Regions from separate parts of the Homo sapiens genome. Here region 1 is linked to region 2. Evidence: promoter capture Hi-C in 16 types of primary human blood cells and fetal thymus (Javierre and others, 2016). All regions are on one chromosome and are shown on one strand. Each heading gives the region's core, a stretch centred on a gene start or on the middle of the fragment in contact. The rest is flanking DNA. Distances are from core to core; before and after follow the strand shown. Region 1 overlaps INTS12 (integrator complex subunit 12). Region 2 holds the start of GAR1 (GAR1 ribonucleoprotein).

The links. Contacts are between HindIII fragments. The CHiCAGO score rates a contact against its expected background, and 5 or more counts as called.
Region 1: a contact is called between a fragment that was not itself captured here and the fragment with the promoter of GAR1 in region 2, in 1 of 17 cell types (total B cells). The highest score is 7.7, in total B cells.

What each region holds. Positions count from the first base shown.
Region 1 is chr4:105,703,784-105,707,940 of GRCh38, forward strand. INTS12 (integrator complex subunit 12) reads right to left here. Exons shown (of 8, transcript NM_020395.4): 2 at 1-26. It overlaps LOC124900748 (a long non-coding RNA gene), which reads left to right. Exons shown (of 3, transcript XR_007058215.1): 2 at 1,531-1,607; 3 at 2,096-2,191. It overlaps LOC124900747 (a long non-coding RNA gene), which reads left to right and starts at 2,599. Exons shown (of 2, transcript XR_007058214.1): 1 at 2,599-2,640; 2 at 4,118-4,157. The HindIII fragment of the contact is 200 bases long and covers 1,151-1,350 here.
Region 2 is chr4:109,813,335-109,820,184 of GRCh38, forward strand. It overlaps GAR1 (GAR1 ribonucleoprotein), which reads left to right and starts at 2,428. Exons shown (of 7, transcript NM_018983.4): 1 at 2,428-2,470; 2 at 2,819-3,044; 3 at 4,602-4,756; 4 at 5,667-5,726. The coding sequence starts at 2,831. It overlaps GAR1-DT (GAR1 divergent transcript), which reads right to left and starts at 2,048. Exons shown (of 2, transcript NR_186620.1): 1 at 1,497-2,048; 2 at 1-266. RefSeq lists enhancers at 1,804-1,903, 2,074-2,473, 2,484-2,533, 2,884-2,933, 3,104-3,173. The HindIII fragment of the contact is 3,017 bases long and covers 1,513-4,529 here.

The DNA.
Region 1 (4,157 bases), core at 1-2,500, 4.1 Mb before region 2:
TTCTGTGTTTCAGTAGATGGCCTCACCTACTTCACAAAGAGAGGCTGTCAGAGAGGAATTAAGTCGACTTCCTTCCAGCACATCTACAAACTTACCTGCACTCATCCTTTCCTCTTTCCCATCTGATAAAAAAGGAGAAGGTAGCTCTCTATGTAGTGTCACCTGGATCTGGATCCTATCTCTTCTTGTCCCCTCTTGAACCTTGGCCTATGGATTATTTCCCATATCTTCTTTTTTTTTTTTTCAGCCTTTCTACTGGCATCTTTTCATTGACATTAAATATATTCAAACATCTTCTATCTTTTCTCTTTTATAGCAAAACGTTCTCAGAAATCATATGCTTTTGTACTCTTTTTCTTCATTCCTTCTATTTACACAGCAATTCTTGCAATTCAGCCTTTGTCCCACTATTCCATGAAAATGCTCTCATGAGTCATTCGCCGCCTCAGTCAGGTAAACCTAATACATACGATTGTCCCTCCTACTTCTTTGTCAGTCATCTTTGTAGGTTCCTCCTATCCAATTAAAAATGAGTTCCTCAGTGCTAGGTTCTGGGTCTCTTCTTGACTTGTTCTACATCTTCTTCCAAAAATGTGTTCTCTGAGTCAGCAGCATAGGTATCACGTCAGAACTTAGAAATACAAACTCTTGGTCTCCATTCCTAGGCCTACTGAAGAAAAAACTCTGGGAGTAGGGTCTAGAAATCTGTGTTAAGCCTTCCAGGCAATTCTATCTACTCTAAAGTTTGGGAATTATTGCCCTAGACAATTTGATCTATATAGTCTTTTGCCAGTGATTACTAATACATCTCTGCAGTCCATGTGTCTCTCCCAAGATCCAACTGCCAGCTTGACATGGATATATCATTGGTGCCTCCTATGCAACGTGTCTCCAACAGAGCCACTCATACACTATTCCCTTTTCTCCTAACCAGTTCTTCCTCTAGTAATCCCTTTTTCAAATGATATTTACCCTATTGCCCAAGCCAGTAACCCAGAAGCAGCTTTAACTCTTCCCACTTCCTTAATTCCCACCCCCAATTCAATAACCAAACCTCTTAAACATACCTCAAATCTATCCACCCTTTTCAATCCTTACTACTACCACCCTAGACCAACCTAGCATCATCTATTATCTGGCCCACTGCAAAAGCTTAATCAGTCTCCCACAATCACTCTTGTCATCCCTTTAAACCTTTTCATATCACTCACTTGCTTAAAATCCTTTTATCACTTCTCACAATCCAAAGGTTCAAGAATAAGATTCTTAACAAGGTCTCCAATTCTCTACATCAGGGGTCCCTAACCTTCAGGCCATGCAGCAGGAGGTGAGCAGTAGGCAAGCGAGGGAAGCTTCATTTGTATTTACAGCCACTCCCATCACTTGCATTACTACCTGAGCTCTGCCTCCTGTCACATCACTGGTGGAATTAGATTCTCATAGGAATGCGAATCCTATGTGAACTGTGCATGTGTGTGATCTACGTTGTGTGCTCCTCATGAGAATCTAATGCCTGATGATCTGTCACAGTATACCCCATCATCCCCAGATGAAACCGTCTAGCTGCAGGAAAGCAAGCTCAAGGTTCCCACTGATTCTACATTATGGTGAGTTGTCCAATTATTTTATTATATATTACCATGTAGTAATAAGAGAAATAAAGTGCACAATAAATGTAATGCACTTGAATCATCCTGAAACCATGTCTTCAATGAAACTGGTCCCTGGTGCCAAAAAGGTTGTGGACCATTGCTCTACATGATTAATAATACATATAAAGCAGTTACAACAGTACCTGACACATAGTTGACACTCATTAAATGTTACCTAGTATCTTAGGCCATTCTCACTCTCTCTGTTATAGCTATCTGACTTATTTCAAGTCCTCCAATATACTCTTTCTTACCTTAGCACTTCAGTAGAAAGTGTGCCACCCCCACCTCCATCTTAAGTCACCTCTCAAGTTTCAGTTTTTCCTGCACATTCCCTCAACAAAACTAGAAGTTTCACTGTTACATAGCCCAAAAACATTCTGTACTTATTTGTAATATTAATCACACTGTTAATTATGTAAATAATCTTTCTTTCTCATTAGAATGTAAGTTCCATGAAGGCAGGCAGTGGATTGGTCTTGCCTACTGTTGTAACCCCTGTCTGGCAGAGTTCCTGGAAAACAGCAAATAACTGTAAATGTTGGCCAAGTAAATACTTGTTATCTACTTCCAATTTCATAAAACTTTCTCTTCCCTTGAGTTCTGTTATACTCAACTTTTCTGTTTTTCCTCTTCTATCTCTGACTACTCTTTCTTTGGCTTATCTTCTTTGTTGCTTTTGGTATTGTCCAAGTATTTGTCCTTGGCTATCTTCTTAGTTCTGCTAGCAGTTTCTTCTTGGTAATCTTATACACATCAGGTTTTCAACTATCATCTCTGGGTAGATGATTTAATATGTTTTACCCCAACTTCAATCTCTTTTTTTTTTTTTTTTTTTTTGAGACATGGTCTTGCTCTGTCACCCAGGTTGGAGTGCACTGAGATCATGGCTCACTGCAGCCTCGAACTCCTGGGCTCAAGTGATCCTCCTGCCTCAGCCTCCCAAGCAGCTAGGACTACAGGCATGCACCACCGTAACCATGCCCAGGTAATTTTGTTGTTTTTTAAGTAGAGCCAGGGTCTTGCTATGTTGCTCTTATCTGGTCTCAAACAATCCTCCTGTTGTGGCTTCCCAAAGTGCTGGGATTACAAGTGCGAGCCAAATCTCTTAAATTTGAATCCCATGTTTCCAAATGCTTAGTGTATGTGTCTATGTGATTCCTTAATGGCATCTCAAATTCAGTTACAACTAAAATTGAGATTCTGATTATCTTCCCGAAAAGTTCCTTGTCCTGCTCTTACTTTCAATAAATGACACAACTTTCTTTTAGTCAGGTTTGAGACCAAAGTCTTTCCTTCACTGAGTCTTTCCCTACTCCTTATATTCAAATAATCAGAATTCCTGTGGATTCTGACGGCAATATTTTTCACACTTGTCCTACTTTTCACTTCCACTGCTACTACTGAAATTCAGGTTTTATTAGCTTACTTGAACTATGGCAATAACCTCGTTATTTTCCTTGACTTCAACATTGTTGCCATATGAATTTTCCTGAAACCCAGTTTTCTTCTTTTTCATTAAAATAAAAAAAAAAATTCTTGCTGAGAAGTTAGGGCTTTCTACCACCTTCGAAATAAAGACCAAATTTCTTGGCCTAGCATTTAAGAAGATTCAGTAACTGGCACAAAAATTATCATTCATCATCCCCAGATCTGCCTTATAGCTAGCTGACCCTGCCACTCTTATTTTTTTTGTCCAGGAAGCTCTTTACCTATTTTTATATATCTACATCCTATCAAGACCCTATTCAAATACTTCTCATGAAGATTTGACTGACAGCTGCTGTGCCCCTCTCCATTCCAAACCCTATTAATAGTCTCTCCATTCAAGGATATCTCATAGTGCTTTTTCATGGTATTGCAACTTTCTCCCTTGAAGCATTTTTTTTTTTTTTTGGCACAAGTGTTATGTCCCCTACAAAACTCTGAGTACTTTAAGGGCAGAGTCTATATTTATCTTTTTGCCTATCTCTTTGCCACTTTGCAAAGTACAACAAAATAATGGCTATAGAATTACTGGAATTAAGTGATCAAAGTATAGTGGTCTTATCTCTCCTTCTACACAATTGTAGCCATTTCCAAGGTCCCTTCAGCAAAAATCACAAAAGTAACTCACCCCTGCCCCCACAAAAAAAACTCCAAACATCAAAAAAGCAAAAGCAAAGCAATCACCTCTTTCACGACTGGGGACTTGTAGTACAATGTTCCTATCTGTAAAATTCTCACAATCTTTCGCCTGTCTTGCTTAATTCATTAATCCCACTGGTCTGTAAACTTGATGACAGCAGGAACTTGTTTTGTTCACTGTTATTTCCCTAGTGCTTGAAACTTAATAAGGGCTCAAAAATATTTATCGAATGAACGAACTAGGTTTTTTGCGTAAATGTCACCTTATAAGGCTTCTGTGATCTCTCCAGTCTAAATTGGGCATTCATATATAAATATAAGTATGTGCTTTCTCCTAGATCCATTTTTCACCCTACCTGGCAATCTCAAAAGAAGTCC
Region 2 (6,850 bases), core at 1,178-3,677:
CCCTGGAGAAAATCGTTTTACTTCGAGTGACAAGATTTTTGGGTTTAAATAAATATTGAATCTTTGGAAAAGTTATATTGCAAAAAGGGATCTTGAAATGTTTCCACTGCTGCTTGGACTTTAGAATAAGGAAGTCTCAAGTCTTACCGAAAACCACCGTGGGGAATTGCAGAACAAAACCGAACAATATTTTCCTTCCCCTGGAACACAACTGTATAACTACGTGAGGAACCCTTTCCTTGAATCTTCTCAGCCTGAGCACCTGGCTTTGAGAAAAGAGGAAGAACTTTGTGAATGTATGACTGTAGATATAAGATGAAATGTACTTATTTGTGTTTCTCCTTCTTTTTTTTTTTTTTTTTTTTTTTGAGACGGAGTCTTGCTCTGTTGCCCAGGCTGGAATGCAGTGGCGCAATCTTGGCTCACTGCAATCTCCGCCTCCCGGGTTCAAGCGATTCTCCTGCCTCAGCCTCCCAAATAGCTAGGATTACAGGCGCCCGCCACCACGCCCGGCTAAGTTTTGTATTTTTAGTAGAGACAGGGTTTCACCATGTTGGCCAGGCTGGTCTTGAACTCCTGACCACAGGTGATCTGCCTGCCTCAGCCTCCCAAAATGCTGGGATTACAGGCGTCAGCCACAGCACCTGGCCTGATCTGTGCTTCTACAAGTTTTGGATTTCTGAGAAAGAAGAGCAGCTTGACATTTTTAAGAAAGTAATAAACATTTTGACATACTTTAAAACTTCTTGTTCAAGCAAGCTTTTTCTCACTAAGTTTTAAGAGTAAAGACAAAAATCATCTCATTTCAGTTGAAAATGCAATCTGTGTGTGACAATCTCAAGTTCAATTCAGAATTGAGCAAATACACAGCAAAAGATAAGCAAAGGTTTCATACTAAATAGGTAATTTTCATTTTTTGTTTCAAAAATAATACACTTATATAGGCCCATAAAAAGACCAACATTCGTTAAAATCAAATTGCAGCATTTACTAAACTAAAAGAAAAAGAACAAGTAAAGTTTCCTCTCTCACTTATTTTGTTTTTTGTTTGTTTTGAGACCAAGCCTTGCTCTGTCGTCCAGGCTGGAGTGCAGTGGCGTGATCTCGGCTCACGGCAACCTCCGCCTCCCGGGTTCAAGCGATTCTCCTGCCTCAGCCTCCCGAGTAGCTGCGATTACAGGCGTGTGCCACCATGCCCGGCTGATTTTTGTATTTTTAGTAGAGAAGGGGTTTCACCGTATTGGCCAGGCTGGTCTCGAACTCCTGATCTCAAGTGATCCATCTGCCTTGGCCTCCCAAAGTGCTGGGATTACAGGCGTGAGCCACCACGCCCCGCCTACAAAGGTATTTTAAAATCCCATTTACAATAACCCTCTGAATTAGATAGGTACCAAGTTCCACCCTCTTCTAAACACGAGATCAAATATCAAGGTAAGGTCTCAGAGGGTTTGGGTGTAAAAGACTCCAACCAAATTTAATAAATGGGAAGTCATTACCTTTATTTGTGAGAGAAGCTTTGGAGAATGTGGGGGAAGCTGATGTCAAATATAAAGGGCTTAAAGAGAGAAGAGGGAGAGGAGCTTTCAGCACAGTCCAGTTCACAGCCCGTCGGTGCTCAAAACATACTTGAATACCTGGTACAAAAGATAAAAATGATGGTTTGGTTTTCTATAAGACAGCATAGTTTCTTTAAAATTACACACACACATGCATTGCTTTTCTTCCTTTAATTAGTTGAGACCATAGGACAAAAGAAGAGGCATAGTTGAGCGCGTAATGGTGCGAAAATCAAAAGGTTGGGAAGAAACAAGAAACTCAGATAAACGCTTCCGTCGGCTGTGACAGGTTCTGAGGCGCCCAGATCTACTGGACATAGCGCGGCTCAGAAGCCTCAGAGACCTGTCCGCACAGTTCCTGAAGTTAGCAACAAATTAGTGAGTGCTGTTGCGGGCCATTTTGCAGCCAGAGAAGCAAATGCGCAAATGCGCCCAGCCAGTCAGCACGGACTTCAAGAACCAACTTCATTCCTTGCAAGGTGCTTTAGTTCTGGCCGTTAGGGCGGCAACCAAACAGAAACCTGCCCCGCCTCTGGGAGAGAAGGCGGATCCCTAACGCCAGCTATCTCCAAGAGCAACATTGCCGCAGCACTTCCGGGACGTCGTGCTGCAAAGGACGCCGCTGTTATACGTCACTTCCACGGCTCAGCGTCAGGCAAGTTGGCCTCTCTGTTGTAAATTAGTGGTTAAGGTTATCTATTATTGCCACTTTTCCAGCGCTAAAGGCTGTTTTGGAACCAGTGTTGCTTGTTCCGCGGGTGATTGGCTTTTTTTTTTGGCAAACCAGTTATTCAAGTTTCTGGTCTTTAAAAAACTCTGTGGCGGTACGGTAACCGAGGAGGTTCCAGCGCGGCGGAAGTACCCCGCGGGTGGGTGTGTGCGCAAGGCCAGGGCCAGAGGGGCACGTGGCGCCGGTGAGTGGCCGTAGAAGCCGGAGGATTTGAAAATGCTGGACGTGGAACCCAACTGCCGGAGGGAGGGAGGAAGGAAGGGGATGCGGTGCGAAGACCTTGCTGTCTGTAGGGGGAGGAGATACTAATCATGGGGCGGCAAGGGTGGTGTGTGGTCGGTCGGCGCTCACGAGACCATGGAGAAGTAAACTCTTCACCCATCAGGTTGGTGGTCACTGGCTGTCTGACCGTGGGTGAGGTGACAGGGCTGCTTTTGTCTCCTTTATGGTGTTCTCACCGCAGCTCCGAGGGGTTGGAGTATACTCAGAGGCTACAGTGATCAGAAGACATAGGTCGTTTTTTTTTCATCAGGGAGGAGAGAGAATGTCTTTTCGAGGCGGAGGTCGTGGAGGCTTTAATCGAGGTGGTGGAGGTGGCGGCTTCAACCGAGGTGGCAGCAGCAACCACTTCCGAGGTGGAGGCGGCGGTGGAGGCGGCGGCAATTTCAGAGGCGGCGGCAGGGGAGGATTTGGACGAGGGGGTGGCCGCGGAGGCTTTAACAAAGGCCAAGACCAAGGACCTCCAGAACGTGTAGTCTGTATGCAGTCTTCAGTATTTAGCTTATTTGAAGGAGTAGGTGTGGGTTGGGGGTTTGTGTTGTTAGGCAGCAAGTTTGGGATACACAAGCCTGTGTGGAGAATGTAGCATGTAAGGGTGGAGTGGGGAGATCAAGAAAGCTGAGGGATACTTAGAATGCATCTTGGAGGTGGAACTTGAGGGTTGACAGGAAGATATTAAATAGGTAATCGTGAGTACTTATGCCTAATTCCCCGATTTTACAGATGAGAAAACTATGATTTAGAGTTAAGTTTTTTTGCTGGGGTCATAAGGTTAGTGATAAGTGATCAATTAGTGATATAGCTGAAATACAGGCTGGGTGCGGTGGCTCACGCCTGTAATCCCAACACTTTGGGAAGCTAAGACGGGAGGATCTTTTGAAGCCGGGAGTTAGAGACCAGCCTGGATAATAAAGCAGGAGACCCTGTCTGTACAGAAAAGAAAGAAATACAAAGCCAAGTATTCTGACTCCAAAGCCCATGCTTTCTGTTACTACTCAAAAGTAGATAAGTGAGAAAACAATTTGCTTGAGAGGGAAACTGCCAGAGAGGAAATCTAGAAAAACACCTATTTAGGGTAGTTTTAGAGTAATTAACAATGAGATGGGAATGGAAGTCACAGAAAGTGAAACTTACTACATTAAAGAGGAGAGAGGGTGAGTAGTGTCTAACTAAGAATGGCTTGGATGAGTATGCAGGATGGTTTGAAAGGAGCAGTTTCTAGAATAAAAGGTCCCAGCCCACAAGCTGTTGTACCAGTCCATACATGAGACCTTGAGAGCCTGAATCAGGATGGTGACAGTGAGGAAAAAAAAGGAAGGGTTAGATAGGAGAGAGATTTCAAAGGAAACAAAATCGGTAGAACTTAGCTAATGCTGATAATAAAGGGTTCCAGGTTTTGAGCTTGGGTGATAGGAATGAAGACTTGGTTTTGCAGGAATGTGGTATTTTAGTTTGGGGTGACAGTCTAGTTAGAAATAAAGGTAGTTATTTTGAGATTCCAGATGTCCTTGAAAACAATGAATCATTGTTAAAGAGGTGGTAGTGGGAATGGAAAAGTTCTAAGGCAAGAGAAAAAAAAAAAGAATGAAGGCTGATTCTGTTAGGCATTGAAGAAAAGGGAGAACCAAGAGAATGAAGCAGAGTTTTGAATCAGATAATAAGTTGTAATAACATAACTGTTACAGGTTGAATGGTGTCAGTGTGCCAGGCACTGTTCTAAGCACTTGACATTTGTTATTCCATTGAGTGCTTACATTACTGTATATTAGGTATAGCTATACATTATATGTTATTAGTGCATACTAAAAATGAGACACTGAATTAGAGAGAGGGTGGGTAACTTCTCCTAGGTCAAATAGCTAGTGTGTTGTGGAGTTGGTATACCAGCCCAGGAAGTCCTAAGACTGTGGTCTTCTGCCTCAGAGGAGAGCAGTTATGGTGAAGTCCCAGGTAGCCAAAAAGAAAGCTTCCAGAAGCAGTTGGTCAGTATCGTTTGAAATAGTTCTATGTTTTAACATTTTCTTGTCCTGTTTCAGTATTAGGAGAGTTCCTGCATCCCTGTGAAGATGACATAGTTTGTAAATGTACCACAGATGAAAATAAGGTGCCTTATTTCAATGCTCCTGTTTACTTAGAAAACAAAGAACAAATTGGAAAAGTGGATGAAATATTTGGACAACTCAGAGATTTTGTATCCTTTTTCATTGGAAGGCCTGATAATATTCAAAGGTTGCTATTTGCATTTTTCTGAGGAGGCAGTTAAGTATAAATTAAAGTTGTTGCTTCATTAAATTAGACAGGATTGCTACAGATTGGACCATGAAGGAGAATCAAGGGGAGAATGTATTCATCCATAGATATTAAAATGACAGACCCTAGAACGGTGACTTTTTTTTTGGAAAATTCTATTAATGATGGCCATTTGGATAAGTACTACAGGATTAAGTTGGCTGATTTGGATGTAGTGGTGCCACTGGAAATGTAGAATTAGAAGTTGTTTGGTGCCCCCACTACTCTGGAAACTCCTTCCTTCCTTTCTCTCTCTCTCTTTTTCTCTTTCTCTCTTTCTTTCTTTCTCTCTCTTTCTCTCTCTCTTTCTTTCTCTCTCTTGCTCTTTCCCTGCCTTCTTCCCTCCCTCCCTTCCTCCCTTCCTTCCTTTCTTTTTTCCTTTTTTTTTTTTTTTTTGACAGAGACTCACTCTGTTGCCCAGGGTGGAGTGCAGTGGCACGATCTCATCTCACTACAACCTCCGCCTCCTGGGTTCGAGCAATTCTCGTGCCTCAGCCTTTCAAGTAGCTGAGATTACAGGTGAGCGCCACCATGCCCGGCTGATTTTTGTATTTTTGGTGGAGGTGGGGTTTCACCATGTTGGCCAGGATGGTCTCAAACTCCTGGCCTCAAGTGATCCATCCGCCTTGGCCCCCCGAAGTGCTGGGTTTGCAGGTGTGAGCCACCACGCCCAGCCCCTGGAAATTCATTTCTTATCTTTCCTATATATATCCATACATTCTAACCTTGTTTTTGAAATTATACATGAATTCAGAACATTTGATATCATCTTTCATCTTAATTGCTCATTTGTTCCTTAATGAAAATAATAGTATTTTTCAGTTAAGTTGTCAGAAAACATGAAGGCTTCATCCTTTAAAAAACTACAGAAGGTGAGTCAAACTTATGATACTTGGGATCCTTGGTTTTATAAGGGAACGACCTATCTTAGGAAAGTCCTACTTGGAGCACTTGAGACTTTCCCAACATATCACTAGTAAAGCTCTTAAATTGAAATGTTCCATGCTATAAATATTGAACACACTAATCTTTAAAAGTGATTTATTTGATACAGCCTTTAGAAAGTAAAAATTACAACTTTTGCTCATATTACCAAAATCTGTAAACTGCTAGAGTAAGAGTTTTTTGTTTATGTAAAACTCTCTTATTGAAAAGCTTTCATGACCAAACATTCTAGGTAGAATCTTAATTTGTAAAACTTACGTTATTTGAGAGGCGGTAGGTACTAAGTGATTTCACAAGAACTTCAATAACATGATATATGCTATGAAGGAAAAATACAGGTTGCCATGAGAAGCTTTGTAGTGCCACCAGCTTTTTAAGTCTGTAGTGTTTCCTGAAAAAGTGAGCTTGAAGCTGAGGCCTGATTGTTGACTAACAGTGATTTCCACACCTGGTTGCATGTCAGAGTTATCTTGGGGAGCTTTTAAGAAGATGTATCTCTAGTTTCCACTTCTGGAAATTTGACCTAGGAGCTCTTAAGTAGCGTCCAGGATTCAATTTTAAAAAGGAAAAGCACTTGGATAATTTTGATGTAGTTAGTCAAACACTTGAGAGCTGCTGAGCTAGTCAAAGAGGAAGAGGAAAGTGCATTCCAAGTAGAGAAAACAGTATGTGCAGTCTCTGAGAGCAGGCAACTGAAAGGATACAAAAAGGCAGACATATAGGTTAGGAATGAAACATTTAGGAGAGGTGGGGAAAGTTGTGAATTAAGACCAGAGAGGTAGGAGGGGGCTTGATTAACTTAAGCCTTCAGGTGACAGGAAAGAGTTTAGACCTTAGTTTCAATTGTGTTTTATTTTTGAATAATGGGATAACACAGTTAAATGAATGCTTCAAAAGAATACTGGGAAGATAAAAAGGCACCTTGGGAAGCGGTCAATATTGTGTGAGAGGGGCCAGATAGGAGGCTATAATAGTAGTTCTAAAAGAGATGGTATTTTGGACTCGGTAGTGACAGTGGAAATGGAAAAAATGGATTTATGAAAGATACAGG